Linked DNA regions of Homo sapiens: region 1 is linked to region 2. The links are contacts of gene promoters, found by promoter capture Hi-C in human tissues and cell types (Jung and others, 2019). All regions are on one chromosome and are shown on one strand. The core of a region is centred on a gene start or on the middle of the fragment in contact, and the rest is flanking DNA. Distances in the headings are between cores, read along the strand shown. Region 1 overlaps GRIA4 (glutamate ionotropic receptor AMPA type subunit 4). Region 2 holds the start of MSANTD4 (Myb/SANT DNA binding domain containing 4 with coiled-coils).

Region 1 (2,700 bases), core at 143-2,642, 390 kb before region 2:
GGAGGCAGCCAGCCCCGCTGGGGCTAGTGCATGTATCTATAATGTACTTTAAAAGATGTTCTCTCTTTTCATGAGCCAGAGGATAGCTTAAGATAACAGAAGAAAGAAAAAGACTGTCCATTACCCAGACTAATTTGATTAATGAAGTAAAATTGGACCGATATACTTAGATGTCAGAATTTATATGGAGAGAAATGAGCAATTAAATAAAACAAAATCCTTTGGCAGCCCCAGATTAGACTCAACAACTGTGAATCTGAACCACTCATATTGTCTCATAGATAACAAACTATTTATCACTTCTATATTCTATATTCCTTATGCATCTGTGTGTGTTTGCTACCAAGTTATTTGCCCCTGTTAATATGCAGCTTCTTTAGTGTTCAGTTGTAACTTTAATTAACTGAGTGTTCACTTGGCAACTGTCTTGCTTTCTTTGCTGTGCCACACACTTTATTGAAAAAAAAGTCAGACTTGATACTGGGCCTTACAAAGCTTATTATATGCTGGAAAGACAGAAGCAACTTGTTATGAATAAGGTGATAAGTATGTGTTAAATCAGAAGGTGTTGTGCATTGTATCATAATTGCCAAAGAAATACTATTAGGAGGGGCCAGATTTTATAAAAATAAGACTTAATAAAGTGGAGTTTAATCTTGAATGAATGAGGAGGTCAAGGAGGGGTATAAAAGAGTGTTGAAGAGAGCAAATAAAAAACCCTAAGCTACAAAAAGGGATGAGGTGGCACAGGAAAGCATCTCATTGGATATGAATGAATAGTGTTGGAGGGAGGGAAAACAGGAGGGCAAAAGCCTAATTATAAATTCAGGACTTTAGAAGCAAATAAAATAAAAGTTTGAATTTGATAACAGGGATGGTTTGGACAGGGGATTGATAATTCAAGAACCGTAATTCTGTCATGGGTATGCAGTATCAATTTAGAGAATAAAGAGGATAGACACAAGAAAGTGAAATGGACTGAATTAAAGTCTTACTCCTCTCTCATCTCTTATAATTTCTTACTGTTTTGGGTTCTCTTCAGTCTAAAGTTTTAGCTGACACCCCATCTCATCTCCACATAAGAACCTCTACTCCAAATATGTCTGTTTACACTTCCACTTTCCCAGTTTCAAAGACCATAGCACTGCTTTAATGTCTGTCCCCATTTTTTTCATTTGTAGAAACACTTCCATTCTTCCAAAATTGGCTCTCTGGTGTAGAAGAGCATAGCCTCTGCAGCAAGGCCTGGATTCAGCACCCAGCTTTGCTGTTCATTAGCTATGTGAATTGTTGACAAATTAATCATCCTCTTTGAGTTTCAGAGTCTAAGTTATAAATTAATGGGAATGACAACTTGCCTTGATTTTACTAGAAATATCTAAAGCAATGTGCATTAAAATACATCATATACAGTGCTTAGGGGCCAAGCATTGTGGCTGACTATAATCCTAGTGCTTTGGGAAGCTGAGGCAGGCAGAACACTTGAGGCCAAGAGTTCAAGACCAGTCTGGGCAACACAGCGGGACCCCGTTTCTCCAAAATAATAAATAATTAAAAAGAAAGAAAAAATTTTGTAGAAAGTGTTAAAAGTGTTTAGGCATGGACCTCTAAGCATTAATATAACCACAGTAAACACAGAAATAATAATTTGTATCATTCCCTGAGCCAAGCCTCATGTATACAAAATAAAATGCACATTTCAATGGCTGATGGAGGTGAGAGAAAAGGGGTCTTGAGAATTGTAACTTGGGAAGATGGTGCTGTTCACCAGGAAATACATATGAAATAAAAGGTCCTAAAGCAATATTATGAGTTTGTTTTGGAGCTGACTGAGTTAGCTGTCAAGTGTATCATAGTGTGTTATGTTTTATTTTCTGTTACAAGAAAGGTAACTTCTATAGGTGCTCACTAACGACTCAATGAATTAGTGCCATTTGAAAAGATGAATTTATTATGCCATTATATGGATTTCTGTTTGAAAATGAACTTAAATTCAAAAGATTCATTTTTAATGTGCATGTGTTTCACAGCTGACAATGTTGGCATTTCTTAGAAGATTTATACATATTTCTACATATTTATTTTTTGTCAAATTCAAAGAAACTAATTTTGAAATGTCAATTTACAATCTGTTCAATAGACTATGAGCTTCTTGAGGGCAGAGTCTATATCTATTTTTCCTTTATATCCCCTGAATATAGTTCATAGCACAGTATATTTGTTGTAAACCCTTAGTAAAAATTGTACTAAACCCTTAGTAAATATTTCTGAATGCAAATGTGCATTATTATTCAAGCTGTGAATCTGCAGATCAAGTGTAATTGCACTGGAGTTTAGAGACTATTAAAGAAAAACAAACTTATCTTCCATGACCATGCTTTTTTATCAAAGAGTCTATAGATGTAACTCATTAGAATAACTGAAGGCAAGTTTAGGAATCTCTAGAACCACAGAAACACAAATTCTACATTCTTAAGACCTGTATTTCAGACTTAGTTAAATAACAATATCAGAATCACAGACCTGGAAGAGACTCTCTGAAATCACATAAATGACAACCAGTTTACTATTTACAAAACTTTTCCATTAGCCTATCCTAATGGAGCCTCAAAACGATGCTGAGAAAGAACTAGAAATGACTTGGAAACTGAGACTTTTAGAACTAACCTGGTGCTTAGTGCACTTATGTTAAAAACAGTT
Region 2 (2,700 bases), core at 194-2,693:
ATTTTTAACCTGACTGAAATTGATATTGGGATGCACCTTAGATACCCAGTCTTGGCTTAATTGTGTGAAAATCTTCTTCTAAAACCTTGATATTTTCTGATTAAGTGCAAGAAAGTGCCAGCATTGATGCATCTTGAGTTGTTGAAGTTCTGTAGATATGCTTACCTGGATAAAAGCCATTTCCAGAAATGTTTGTCTTCCTGTCCTCTCCTTTATATGCCGGTATCCAAGTAACAGAAGCTTGGGTTTTCTACCATCCATTCATTCCCCAATAATTTCCTCAAAAAATACTTACTGAGCTCCTACTGTGTGAAAGGCACTATTTTTGGTGCTGGGGATATAACACCTCATAAAATGTGAAAATATGTCATTTTAGATGTCAAACACTATCCCTTTTCTATTGCCTGTCATCGCTCTCTTAGCAGAAAGGATTCAACAGCTGCAGTCTCTAAAACTTACAAACCTTCTATGCCCAATCACAGAGAACAGCCATTTTCTAAAATCCCATTTCACAATCGTTCTTCACTAGTTGGAAACAGGAATGAGATGTAGTTCACTTACGTAATCCTTGTGAAGATGATGTACTGCCAATGGCATAATATAACCAGGCAACTTTTTACAAGCACTAAAACTTGAGAATGAAGTTCCTAGATACTTCATGATAAGTCAGAATTAAGAAGTCTGAGAAAAACCAGACGGCAAGTTCCGGATCAAAAAAATTTGAGGGTAAATTAGTTAAGCAGTTCAAGAAGAAAAGCATCACAAATCTACAATATCAAACCCTACCCAAATTCTCTTTAAAGTGTGGCTTTCCCCTCCCCTATATTCTTATAGGGGATTCACTTCCCTGCCAAAAAGTATGTTCTTCTCTAAAACTCGTGGTAGGTGCATAACAAGTATACTTATGGGTCGACGGTTATCAAAGTATCTTTCACCTCCCTCCCGCTGCCTCCTTTGGGACCGTCCAAAAAGAGCCCCTGGGAAGAATCGAGTTAGACTGGGCTCCCGGAAGGCCACCCAGGGGAGCAGGGGCGCGCACCTGCCTCGGCCACAATGATGAGGTTGCTGCTGGTAGGAGTCCCGGTGGGAGTCGGGGCAACCTGGAAGATCTCCTCTCTCTGGGTATTAAATGAGAGTCCCGACTGAGTGCCCAGAAACTTCTGCAGTCTTGTTTCCGTGGCCTGGGCCCTCCCCAGCCTCCCCGGTCAGGCGACAGACGCGCGTGGCACTTCTCCCGAGCGTGCAGTCCCGCTACGTCGCAGCCCTTGGACCAAACCCGGCAGCAAGCGTTGCGCCAATTGCCGCTGACCCCTCCGGGACCCTACCCACTGCGAGGGCACCCACTGGTCACGGAGCCGCCGCTTCCCTGGCCGCCTCCTCCAGCATAGAACCGCTCACCTGCGACCCCGGCGGCACCTCCCCACGGTCGCCCCAAGGGGGGTAGGAAAAAAGATGCTTCATTGATCCCCCGCCCACTAACTGGGCCCGCCCATCTCCCGCCACCCCAATGGCTCATATGGCTGCCGCTCATTTGATGAGTCTCATCCATTGGTTAGAATGGTGTAGCCATTCTGGCTGAGAGCCCGCCCTAGGCCTGGCCTCACAATGGGAATCAAGTCCCAAACCGGTTCCGGGTTAGTGCCCTGGAATTCCGCCCCCTCGTGATTCACCTCCCTGTCTGTGCCCCGTCTGTGGCGCGCAGCTCTGTCAGTCAAGTGGACTCTAGGAAGGGATTGGCCCCTAGAGATCCGCTTGCTGCGCTGTTCCAACTGATTGGGGCACTGGCCGCTGCATCTCCAAACTCGTCTCTTGTCCTTGACCCTCACCTGTTAAAAGGGCAAAGAAGAAGTAGGAAACTTGTGCTGCTCCAGTCGGGTTCTTAGGCCAGCATCACCTTCTCCTCGACCAGCTGCGACCTAATTGGCCTCAGCCATTCCTCTAAGGCTGCCCGTGCCAAAGGTCGCTGGTGACTTCCTTATGGCTAAATCTAGGAGTCACTTCTTAGTCCTTATCATACTATATACTTCCCAGAAGACATTTGAATTTTTTTTTTTTTTTTTTTTTTTTTTTACCATTCTTCACTGTTTCCCCAAATATGTGCTTCTGCTTTCTTCTCTCCCAGTCCTCCTCTATATTCAAGTTTGCAGTTGCTTATTTTCTGCCGTCTCACGTTCAGGTGTTTGTGATTAGTGCACCTTTCTTCCCGCTGCCTCTGTCCAGGCCTCTGTGGACTCACCTGAATTCCATCAGTAGCCTCCTAGCTGGTCTCCCAACATCCTGTCTGCCGGACTGTAGTTCATTCTTCACGTTGTAGCCAAAATGAGCTGCTTAAAGTTTTTTAGTGGAATCTCACCACTGGTGATACAGTACAAACTCCTTATCGAACCTGAAAAATAAGGCACCTACTTTTCCCTCAACCTTCATCTCTCGACATTATACCCACATTTCTTCTTCCTTACCCCATTCCCTTTGCTTCTTTCAGTTCCTGAACTCTACAGTGGCTACTGGGAAGTCAGTTTGCATTGCTGTGTTTCCTCCCTGCTTCTCCGCTATGCCTAGCATTCATTTTTAGAAATTCCTTTCTAAAGGAAGGCTTCCAAAATTATCTCCATTCACCCTCCCTCCACTTCCAAGTATTCCCTTCCCTGTAGGTTTGCCAGATAAAAACAGGACGCTCAGTTAAATTTGAAGTTCAGATAA

What was found. Contacts are between HindIII fragments. The study calls those that stand out against the background at their distance.
Region 1: a fragment that was not itself captured here is called in contact with the fragment with the promoter of MSANTD4 in region 2 in 1 of the 25 tissues and cell types used here (mesenchymal stem cells).

Annotation. Positions count from the first base shown.
Region 1 is chr11:105,631,234-105,633,933 of GRCh38, forward strand. All of the region lies in intron 3 of GRIA4 (glutamate ionotropic receptor AMPA type subunit 4), which reads left to right. Among named protein-coding and RNA genes, the nearest start is that of GRIA4, 23 kb to the left of the region's middle. The HindIII fragment of the contact is 3,653 bases long and covers 1-2,700 here.
Region 2 is chr11:106,020,797-106,023,496 of GRCh38, forward strand. It overlaps MSANTD4 (Myb/SANT DNA binding domain containing 4 with coiled-coils), which reads right to left and starts at 1,444. Exons shown (of 3, transcript NM_032424.3): 1 at 166-1,444. RefSeq lists enhancers at 966-1,085, 1,916-1,985 and a silencer at 1,416-1,525. The HindIII fragment of the contact is 5,723 bases long and covers 1-2,700 here.